Linked DNA regions of Homo sapiens: region 1 is linked to region 2. Evidence: promoter capture Hi-C in 16 types of primary human blood cells and fetal thymus (Javierre and others, 2016). All regions are on one chromosome and are shown on one strand. Each heading gives the region's core, a stretch centred on a gene start or on the middle of the fragment in contact. The rest is flanking DNA. Distances are from core to core; before and after follow the strand shown. Region 1 holds the start of CNPPD1 (cyclin Pas1/PHO80 domain containing 1). Region 2 holds the start of PECR (peroxisomal trans-2-enoyl-CoA reductase).

Region 1 (5,668 bases), core at 2,410-4,909, 3.1 Mb before region 2:
AAGGATGGGTATGTACTCAAGGAATGGGGTGGTCCAGTTTGGTTAAGAGGATGCTCAAGACCACCAATTCAGGAAGCTGGCAATACATAATGCCCACCACCTGTAATTCACACTGGTCTGCCTTGGCAGGAGAAAGTGTCAGGCTATCAAAAGCTTATTTCCTGAGGTGAGACTGCCTCCTGCACCAGGGATTAGCTGTGAATGTTGCCTCAAGAAGGCGCCCAGGCCTCTTCTTTCAGGGTCTCCAAGCGGGGAGTTTATATCACTCCACTCCCATCCCCCGCCACCTCTATTCCCCTTCAGTGTAGTGAACTGTTGTATGATGTAGGGGAGGTTACCTGAGCTGGATTCTGCCTCTTGTACTGCAGCAGCTCCTGCAGGTGAATCTGGAAGGTGAGCCAGCTCTCAGCCAGGTATCTGCACAACTCGGGCACACTCAGCAGGTGCGGCCGGGCGCCTGACCCCGCACCCTCACTGGGGAGACATGACATGACCCCTGGAGGCCTCAGATACCAGCTTCCTAGACACTTAAATCCCTCTGAGAATGCCAAAGATATCTTTAGTCTAAAAAAGCAAATGACCCCACCTCTCAAAAGGAGGCTGTCCTGGTCTTAGAAGCAAAGCCAGGAGGACCCAACCCTCTGCCCCAAAAGGAGCAGGCACGCAAACACCTACACAGGAGCCTAGGACCATGAAAAACCCATGGCTTGTTACCAGTTCATTCACAATGCTGGGGCACTGCCCTGCTCCATGGTGACACTGGCACCAGCAAGCAGGACAGGATGTGGGCATTTGTCTTCAAGAGGTGGCCTGTACTCACCTGTCAGAGTGTGGCTCCTCTGGGGATGATGCTAGAGAGAGAGGAGGGGGGCAAATTATTGAGTGGTAGGGGCCCTGGGAGACACTCCCCAAGGCAGAAATAGTTGTCCCTCCTCTGCAGCCCCAGAGCACCTTCTTCAGATGCCAATGGGGGAGCTGTTACATGTTTTTGTTTGCGTCTGTCTCCTTTAGACATTACCCTTCTCCAACATAAGAACTAGATTTTACTCATGCTTATCTCCCAAGCAACTCACATACAGCCTGTCACCTACTAAGTAAATTATATGGATAACAAGAAAAACAACACTGACGTTCTATTTATAAGGCTTATATGTGAAACACTATCATAAGTATAGCATGTGTATTAACTCATTAATCCTCTCCTCACCTCTCTATGAAGTAAGTTCTATCATCTGTGTTTTACAGATAAGGAAATTGAGACAAACAGAAATTGAGCTACTTTTACAAGGTCACAGCAATGGTAAATGGCAGAACAGAGAATGGAACCCAGGTAATATGGCTGCAGACTTCACCATCTTAACCACTGCACCTACAGTAGTATTAGTTTGGGAAAGGGGCAATTCTCATTTTAGGGAATTCCGTACAAAAAGGAAGTGGGCCATGCCTGGGAGGCAGGTGGCCTGCTGTACGTTCCCCTCGCCACTTAACCCCACCCAGCGGAATCAGGCACCAAGCAAGTACCCAATGGGTGCTTACTGAATGAAGAAACACTCACCTGAAACGTCAGGGAGAAAGCGAGGCTGCCAGAGATCCAGCAGAAAATAGGCCAAAAGTGAGACGCTGAGTAGGAAGAAGGGCCGGAGGGACGAGGAAGACAGCAACCTTAGGGAGAGACAGGCACCTCAGCAGTGAGTGGGTGAGACAGGCTCATGCATCCATCTCAGAAGGTGGAAAGGCGCCTACTGATGGGGTAATGGCACCTCCAGGCCTAACTCGCGACTCACGACTCAGAGATAGAAAAAAATGGGCAATTCAAGCGGATGTCAGCCTGCAAAAACTGGGGATGGGTCATGCCCCCAGGCCAAGTGATAACCCAGAAAGGGGAATGGTGCTCTCGACCCCTCCCTCCCCCGCTCATCCCGGCCCCGCCCCCTCCTCCGCGGCCGTTACCAGAAGAGGCCGTTGAGCGCGGCCGCCGTGACCAGGCTGTGCAGCGGCTTCTCCCACACCAGCAACCGCTGCGCCGCCGCCAGCACCGCCTCCCAGCCGCGGAGCCGCAGCCACAGCGTCGTGGCCAGGCGTCCCACCGCCTCGGCCGTGGCCGCCTCCTCCTCTGCCTCACTGGTGGCCTCACTCATGCCTAGGCTCAGACCCAGACCCAGGCCCAGGCTCAGGCCCATCCCCGGCCCCCCACCCGCGCCAGTGTTACCCCCGCCACCGCCGCTCGCCATAGCCCCGCCGCAGCCGCCGCCCGAGCCCGCGAGGAGCCAGGGCTGCGCGGCCGCCGCCGGGGGCGCGTCAGGCGGAAGGGGGCGCCGCGGAGGACAGCAGAGGTTGCGGACGAGCGTCACGTGACTGCGGAGCGCTGAGCCCGTCACGTGACGCGGCCTAACCCCCCCCCCCCCGGATAGGGCGGGCCGCGCATGCGCCCCGGCGGCTGCCGCTGACACTGCGCCTACACAGGTTCGTTTTCTGGTTGACGAAGTACCCCGGGTTCCGAGTCCGGGTCTAGGTCCAGGCAGTCGAGCCCGTTTTCTTATCCCACAGTAGGCAGGGCGGCTAGGGAGTGTGGTGCTGCCCCGGTATCCCCGTGTGGGGCAGGAAGTGGGCTTCCAGATTCCCAGTATCCCCGGTAGGGTCTGCTTCTGCTCGCTCGGGAAGGGCGGTGGCCGTCCCATTACTCAACCAACCCTCAACGCACTGGTCCTCCCAGTTCCCTCCCCTCAGTGGGTAAACAAACACACACCAGCGCTTGACTCGACAGACTCGAAAACAACATCTACTCAGAAAAGTTGTTTCTTTCCTATCTCCTTAAACTTTCCCACTTCCACATATCGGAGCTTCTTCCCACCTCGGCCTACTCAAGCATGAGATCGGAGGCGGGAGGTGGGTTTCAACACAAAACCTTGGGTAGATGCAGTTTACTTTTGGGTGGACGTGTTGACACGTTTTGAGGCCTTACATTCGCTTAAGATCACAGAATTTCCTCAGTAGCCTTAGGTTTAAAAGTTCAAATTACAGTAAAAAAAAAAAACACCCTGAGTTTCTCTTCCTTTTCATAGTTCACCCACTGCTAAATTTCCTGTGTGTCCTTTCAGACGCTTTTCATATGCATTGCTGAGTATGTATAATATCTCTCCTAAAAAGCAACTGGGAACAACTTCCTGTTGTGCGTTTCGTCTTATTCACATTAACTTCTCCATTGCTACGCCTGGCTTGTTCATCCTCAGTGCGGCGTGGTCCCCCCTACGAATTGTCCCCATTTCTCAGAGGCGCCTGGGGCTTGGCCACGTTCCGTGAGACCAGGAGTTCGAGTCCGGTTCCTGCCCGCGGGTCGGGGCGGGAGGCTGGGCCAGATGGGCGGCAGGAAGTGCCAGGCGCTGACTTGCAGGCGGCACCCCCGCGGCTTGTAAACGCCGGGCGGACGCGGCACAGGCGGAGTACGCGCCTCGCAGCCGCATCTCCTTTCTGCTCCGCGAGGTGAGCGTCGCACGGACGCTTGACACCTCCCTTCCCGGGCCTAGGGCCCCCGCGCGCCGCGCCAAGCCCGGGGCGGAACAGGAAGAGGCGCCCAGTTCAGCCCGGGCCCCGCCTTCCGCCGCCGGGGGGAGGGAGCTGCGAGGGCGAGGGCGAGGACGGCGGCCCGCCCCGGGGAGGCAGGCTGGCAGGTGGACAGGCGGGCAAGGACAGCTCCGCGAGCCCCCTACAACTCGTTTCCTTCCGTTCACCTTCGCAGGGCGGCGACTGGCGGCGCGATGGACCTGACCGGGCTCCTGCTGGACGAAGAAGGCACCTTCTCCCTCGCCGGCTTCCAGGACTTCACGGTGAGTGGGGGTCCCGCCCCCTCCCCGGCCTCCCGGCGCGCCCCTCCCGGCCTGAGCGGCGCTGCGAGCTCGCCTGACTGCTGTGCCGGGACTGGGCGGCAGCTGCTCGAGCAGTGCTTCCTTGAGGCCGCGGCTGCTTGGGCCGGGAGGGAGAGCCGCGGAGTATAGGAATGGGCGTAGGGGTGGCCACACGAGGGCCCTTCTCGGAGAACTTCTCCCGGGGAACCCTCGATGGGGGTGGGGGCATTCCTCCCTCTATGGACCAGGCTGCCATTGGCAAGCGATTTACAGAACGCGGGTCTGGGTAAGGCACGGGCCCCCTAGCAGCGAGGCCGGCCTGTCCCCTGCCCCGCCTTCCAGCCCAGAGCCAGGATCTGCATCATACCTTTCCGTGCCCTTCACCCTCCGCTGCCCCTGCCCTGTTTCAGTTCCTCCCAGGACACCAGAAGCTGAGTGCCCGGATCCGAAGGAGGCTCTACTATGGCTGGGACTGGGAAGCCGACTGTAGCCTGGAGGAGCTCTCCAGCCCGGTGGCAGGTTAGGCAGTGTTGTGTGACTGGACAAGTGAGAAGCATGAAAATGGGATTGTCATCAGGCAGAAAATGGCTCGAGGTTTGCCCCGTGGCTACACTGTCTCTTCATTGCTAGCTCGTTGGTACTTGGTTCAAGAGGGCAGTTTGCATTTCCCATTCTTTTAGCCCAAATGAATAAAAAACATTGCTGCCACATATATCTATACAAATCACTCTTGATTTATATATTGAAAAGCTAATTTTCGAAGGATATCCATCATATGTTCCCCAAGTAAACAAGGCATGTTTATGCCACAGATGAACAGCAGTGACAGATAAATCTGGATAGTTTGATGTGACAGGGCAATAAGCTTTCCTGTTAGAATGAGCTGAAATTCGAACTTGGAATGGGCTTTTTGTCTCAGTGTGTGAGAATTTGATCTCTATTTTGTTACTATGGTCCTGTCCCCAAGGCCTCAGAAAATACAGATCTGGGTCTTCTGCTAGCAGTGGGGACTGGTGTGTTGGGTGTGGGTGCTTGTTTGCTCACTCGGCCTTCCTTCTGTCCCTTGCAGACATTGCTGTCGAACTGCTCCAGAAGGCAGCCCCCAGCCCTATTCGCCGACTCCAGAAGAAATATGTAGCTCATGTGTCCCGGTGAGCCTGGAAATGAGGATAGGATGAGAGTGTTTGGGCCCTAGAGAAAGGGGAATCGTCTTTTCTTTCTTTTCTTTCTTTCTTTTTTTTTTTTTTGAGACAGTCTCACTTTGTCACCCAGGCTGGAGTGCAGTGGCACAATCTCGGCTCACCGCAACCTCCGCCTCCTGGGTTCCAGTGATTCTTGTGCCTCAGCCTCCCCAGTAGCTGGGACTACAGGCACACACCACCGCCCCTGGCTAATTTTTGTATTTTTAGTAAAGACGGGGTTTCACCATGTTGGCCAGGCTGGTGTCAAACTCCTGGTGTCAGTCCACCCACCTTGGTCTTCCAAAGTGCTGGGATTACAGACATGAGCCACCGTGCCCAGCCAGGAATAGTTTTTTTCCAAAGATAAGAGGTAAAGACAGGAACGAGCATCATAAGACTTGCAAGAGCTGAAGGACCCTTGGGTTTAATTAGTGATCCTTTCTACCACCCAGGGAGGCATGCATCTCCCCATGTGCTATGATGCTGGCTCTGGTGTACATTGAACGGCTCCGGCACCGAAACCCAGACTACTTGCAGCATGTGTCATCCTCTGACTTGTTCCTGATCTCCATGGTAAGACACCCCCTCCCCATCTCCCTAAAGAGCCAAGAGCCTGCTATGAGCTCTGCTCCACCACTTCTGGTT
Region 2 (5,475 bases), core at 1,250-3,749:
GCTTCACTGACATTCTCTCAGCACTGAGATTCTGGGAGTCTAAATGTCGAGAATCCCACAAGCCCCTGTCAGTCTGAGCTAGCAGCTGCTTTGCAGAGGGGAGAAAATAAAGTTACCAGGCAGATGGGGTGGGGGAGGGGTGGGAAGCTGAAGGCAGTCATTGCTAATGGGGTATGACAGAGCTGTGGGGAGAGGTTCGGGGGTGTGGGAGGACCTTGGCCACAGGAATGCCTTTTTCCCCAGGACAAAGAGGGCAGTGACGCAGAGCACAGGGAAGAGCAGCATTTGATTCAACCAAAGGAGTGGTCAGTGCAGCATGGCGTGGTTGCCTTCGGAAGAGATGCCTCAACCAGAGGCAGAACTAAAATTTCAAAACAAAGAGCTTCCAAGCAGCAGATCTATTGCTCTGCTTCCAGGCCTTTTGGCCTGGAACTTAGCGGATTAGTGGACTTTCAAACCCTGACAGAGGTCAGAGGCAGAGGCAAAGAGATCATGCCTCCTAATTTTAAACAAAAGATCGCTTGAAGAGACCCCAAAGCTCTCTTAATTGCAGGTTCTGCCTGGATCATGAAAAATCGCCTTCTGACTGTTCATCCTGCAACTTCCTTGCAGCTGAGGAATGGCACCTTGTCATCCTCAGTAGGCATAACCGGTTTGCAGGCCCCAGTCCCTGTTTCACTGGAAGACATCAGAATCCCACTCTCAGTCCGCTCAGCAGCCACACGGAAGCTGCAGCACAGCCAGCTTCCCACTGACCCACCCTGGCACACCTCTAAGAATCTATAGGTCCAGACCAGGGCATAAATCATGTTAAGTTATATCTTCAATAAAGTTATCATTTAAAAGAATTTAAAGTGTCCCCACCCACAAGAAAGAAAGTCTGGACTTCTCTTGAATAAGATACCCCTCAGAACTGAATCAATATTTCTTTTCCTTAAAAAAAAACACCTTGTCATTGGGATCAAACCAAGAGGAGTTATATGTTTCTGCAACAACACTTTGAGCTTTCCTGTTTGAATTTACTTTGTTTTAAAGGAGGTGATGGCGTTGTAATTTTAAAAATTTGGTCCTAACTACAGAATTGACTTAAGTAGTAGAGTTAAGTGATTCCTGGATAAACTATCTAGCAAATGGTAACCAGGAGATTTATTCCTTTCTTTAACGAGTGTAGATTTGAATCTGTCAGCAACAAAGATAGAGGGAGAAGTGATTCTAAAAAGAGATCAGAGAAGGACAAGAGGATGGAGCAACAGGGAAGTGTAGCTGTCCAACAAGAACTGCAGCCTCGCTGGTGGGTGGGACCTGGTGGAGGAAGTGATGGTCTGATTCCTCTGTCAACCAGACCCATTTCCAATTGGCTTTGTGAATCCTAGGTGGTAGGTCCAACAAAAGGATGATGGCATTTATTTGCCTTTATATTATTTTAATACCTGTCCGGGGAAAATGCAACACTCTGACAACAGCCTTAGAAATAGCATCCCATCTGGATTGTTAAGACCACAGCAACTGGCACATTCGACCAAGTTCTTAGGGTGAAGTCTCAGTAGGCCAGTCCAGGTGTAATCTCACTCTGGTGGGTTCAGAGCGGGAAGCAAGATGAAAAATAAGGAGCAGATCTGAATAATAAATCACTGTTACTGGGCACCATAACACAGACGAGAAATTTTCCCCATCCTCAGCGGGCTCACCCTCCTGCACAAGGAATGAACTACAGGACATGATCTCAAACACCTACAGATGCATCTTGCAGGAAGCGTGCACCCTTCAAGGAAAGATCCTCTTCTGGACTCGCTATGCAGCTCAGCTGAAATGGATCAGGTCTCAAACCTGGTAAAGATGATCTTTCCCCTTGATTCTTGGGTGGGGAGTGGGAGGTGAGACGGAGGTGGGCCTGAGTTTATTTTTTCAAATCGTTTATTCTCTTGGTTCTGTGGAAAACTGCAACCGCATCTCCTCTTCCCCTTCACTCTCTTTCCCGGGCTCCCTCCCGAAGGATGAAAGGATCTGAAAGCCGCATTTCTCCCCCTCAGCTAAGCCTGCCCTTTCTCCCCTTCCCAGCCAGCGGCACACAGCACCTGGAGCCACAGCATCGCCGACGTCCGACCCCGGCAGGCGGGCGCAGCGAGGGCGCCGAGCAGCAGCCTTTCTTTTTCCAGCTGCACTGGAGATTTAATTTTAATTAATCGTGAGAGCTTCAGCCCTGAGGATTGAATTTTTGAAATAGAGCACACCCTGCTTGTTTCTTTCTTCTTCTTTTTTTTTTTTTGCATTTCCCTTCCACCCTCCCCAATGGCATCGAAATTTAAAGAAACGAACGAGCAGTCTCACCCACACCTGCCCAGGGACCGACGCTGGCGGAGGTTGCGGACAGCCGGCGGGGAGCGGTTCTGCTCCGGGAGGATGCGGCTTTGCCGCGGCCGGCGGGCGGGGCGGGGCCGGGCCGGGGAGGGTGCGGGGTTCTGGTGGTCACGTGGGCTCGAGCACCGCCCTGTCCGCCCGCCCGCCTCGAATGTCCCTGAGACCCAGAAGGGCCTGCGCTCAGCTGCTCTGGCACCCCGCTGCAGGGATGGCCTCCTGGGCTAAGGGCAGGAGCTACCTGGCGCCTGGTTTGCTGCAGGGCCAAGTGGCCATCGTCACCGGCGGGGCCACGGGCATCGGAAAAGCCATCGTGAAGGAGCTCCTGGAGCTGGGTACGTGAGCGGGCCGCTGGTGCAGAGAGGTGGCTGTGGTGACCTGGGGTAACCTGGAGACGGGAGCCAGGAGCTCTCGGCGGGGCTGAGGGAGTGTGGAGCTGCAGAGCAAAGACGGGGCAGGTGTGGGCGAAATTACGACCACCAGGGAGACAGAAGAGAGCAGCTCTTCCTAAGGAATTGTGGAGCCACTCGTTAAAAACTGAAGAGACCACTCAGGCCAAAGAGACTGTGCCCCAGGTAGGCAGTAAGAAGAGCAGTGAAACATGCTGTGCAATTAGTTTTATATTCAGATTTAAAATTAATCCATTCTATATGCTTAATGTGAGTGATTAGGAAACGTGGGAAGACTTCATTTAACTGGAAAAAGTTGTGAACATAGTGAGTCTCTCATAGTATCTTCTCACATCTCTTAACCACAGCAAGGAAATATGCTGAATATTTACCTTAACTTGGGTGAAGGAAGGCCTTTGTAAACACATAAGTGAGGGAATAAACCACAAAGGAGAACATAAATCAATCTACCTGTATGAAAGTGTAAATCCTCATTGAATTAAAAAAATATATAAAGTTTAAAGGCATATGAAGAAAAATATTTGCAACATAAGATAAATTGTTTGTTGGTTTTGAGATAGGGTCTCACTCTGTTGCCTACGCTGGTCTCGAACACCTGGGTTCAAGGGATCCTCCTGCCTTGCCTCTGAGTCCTAAAGTTTTGGGATTACAGGCTGAGCCACTAGATTCGGCCAACAGCCTTATACATAAAGAGCTCTTACAAATAAAGAAAAAATCCAACACACTGATAGAAAAATTAGACTAATGGTATGGACTAAGCGTTCCAAAAGAAGAACTACAGACAGGCAAGAAACATATGAAAAAATAATCAACTTTATTGGTAATAAAATATGAAACAGTAAGATTTAACTTTTCTAACAAAATTTTGAAATGTTGGGAAAAATTAAAGTGTTGATGCAGGAATGAGAAGGCAGGAATGTAAATTATTACAAACTTTCTGGAAGGCAATTTGGAAAAAAAGATCCAAAAACCTTCACAATGTTTATGCTCTATGACAGTAATTCCTTTTTCAGGAATTTAAGGAAACGGAGTCAAGCAAAGATTTTCATGCAAGGATGTAGTCTTGAGTAGTGAAAAAATGGAAATTACCTAAAAATCCAATATAAGGAAAATAGTTAAATCAATAACAATGAAATATAATGCTTCCGTTTAAATATCTTGCTATTGGTCCTGGCGCAGTGGCTCACGCCTGTAATTCCAGCACTTTGAGAGGCCGAGGCGGGCAGATAACCTGAGGTCAGGAGTTTGAGACCAGCCTGGCCAACATGGTGAAACTCCATTTCTACTAAAAATACAAACCAGGCATGGTGGCGTACACCTGTAGTCCCAGCTACTTGGGAGGTTGAGGCGCAAGAATCGCTTGAACCTGGGAGGCAGAGGTTGCAATGAGCTGACGTCAAGCCACTGCACTCCAGCCTGGGCAACAGAGCGAGATTCCATCTCAATAAATAAATAAATATCTTGCTATTGAAGACTTACTTGGAGAAATGCATACCATATTATTGGGAAAAGTAGAATTCTAAACCTAATAGCATTCCAATTTTACTTTTTTTTTTTTTTTGAGATGGAGTTTCGCTCTTGTTGCCCAGGCTGGAGTGCAGTGGCGCCATCTTGGCTCACTGCAACCTCCGCCTCCTGGGTTCAAGCGATTCTCCTGCCTCAGCCTCCCGAGTAGTTGGGATTACAGGCACGCACTACCTTGCTAGGCTAATTTTGTATTTTTAGTAGAGATGGGGTTTCTATATGTTGGTCAGGCTGGTCTCCAACTCCCGACCTCAGGTGATCCGCCCGCCTCGGCCTCCCAAAGTACTGGGATTACAGGCGTAAGCCACCGTGCCCGGCCCAATTTTACTTTTAATAAAATATATACATGCAGGGCCGGGCACGGTGGCTCATGCCTGTAATCCCAGCACTTTGGGAGGCCGAGGCGGGCAGAGCACAAGGTCAAGAGTTCGAGACTAGCCTGGGAAAACATGGTGAAACCTCGTCTCTACTAAGAATACAAAAATTAGCCAGGCATGGTGGCGTGTGCCTGTAATCCCAGCTACTCAGGAGGCTGAGGCAGGAGAATGGCGTGAACCCGGGAGGCAGAGGTTTCAGTGAGCCAAGATCGTGCCGCTGCACTCCAGCCTGGGCGACAGAGCAAGACTCAGTATCAAAAAAAAAAAAAAGTATTACATATGCAAAAATGGACTGGAAGGAAGTTTATAAGATTTTTAGCCATTTTTCTGAAAATAATGTTAATTATGAGTAATTAAAATTGTCTTCGTCTTTTAAATATTTTTTAATGAACATCTAAATTATCTTTGGTTACGACTGTGTTTCCAACATCTGGCACAGTATGAACTAAAAAAAAAAAATCTATGTTTTTAGTTAAAAAAAAAAAAAAAAGCAAAAACATTTCCTAGTAAGGCCATGATGTAACCTCATCACCATTACTGCCCAGTTTATTCTCAACACCAAGCTCTATCCTCTTTCAGGAATATCTGTAAGAAAATCAGAATCAGTTATCAATTCATGCATAGGTCAGATACTAGGCTTCTCAGCAGATTCGTAGGACCCTAGTCCACTTTGAAGGATTTTTAATAGATTTTTATGTATTTGAACTTTCATCCTGTTGCATAAGTGTGCTATTTGAACTTTCATCCTGTTGCATAAGTGTGCTATTTGAACTTTCATCCTGTTGCATAAATATGCATTGGCCAAAAAC

Evidence for each region. The method cuts DNA at HindIII sites, captures the fragments that hold promoters and counts their contacts. A CHiCAGO score of 5 or more calls a contact.
Region 1: the fragment with the promoter of CNPPD1 here is called in contact with the fragment with the promoter of PECR in region 2 in 1 of 17 cell types (neutrophils); the score reaches 6.3 in neutrophils.

Annotation. Positions count from the first base shown.
Region 1 is chr2:219,174,916-219,180,583 of GRCh38, reverse strand. It overlaps CNPPD1 (cyclin Pas1/PHO80 domain containing 1), which reads left to right and starts at 3,659. Exons shown (of 8, transcript NM_015680.6): 1 at 3,659-3,824; 2 at 4,253-4,361; 3 at 4,912-4,993; 4 at 5,476-5,596. The coding sequence starts at 3,756. RETREG2 (reticulophagy regulator family member 2) reads right to left here and starts at 2,309. Exons shown (of 9, transcript NM_024293.6): 1 at 1,951-2,309; 2 at 1,556-1,662; 3 at 821-851; 4 at 339-474. The coding sequence starts at 2,231. RefSeq lists silencers at 1,875-1,944, 3,395-3,444, 3,515-3,724, 3,845-3,904, 3,743-4,037 and 2 more and an enhancer at 2,114-2,614. The HindIII fragment of the contact is 4,554 bases long and covers 156-4,709 here.
Region 2 is chr2:216,078,833-216,084,307 of GRCh38, reverse strand. It overlaps PECR (peroxisomal trans-2-enoyl-CoA reductase), which reads left to right and starts at 2,499. Exons shown (of 8, transcript NM_018441.6): 1 at 2,499-2,690. The coding sequence starts at 2,567. TMEM169 (transmembrane protein 169) reads right to left here and starts at 2,389. Exons shown (of 3, transcript NM_001142311.2): 1 at 2,329-2,389. RefSeq lists a silencer at 2,288-2,547 and enhancers at 2,738-2,787, 2,818-2,897. The HindIII fragment of the contact is 11,582 bases long and covers 1-5,475 here.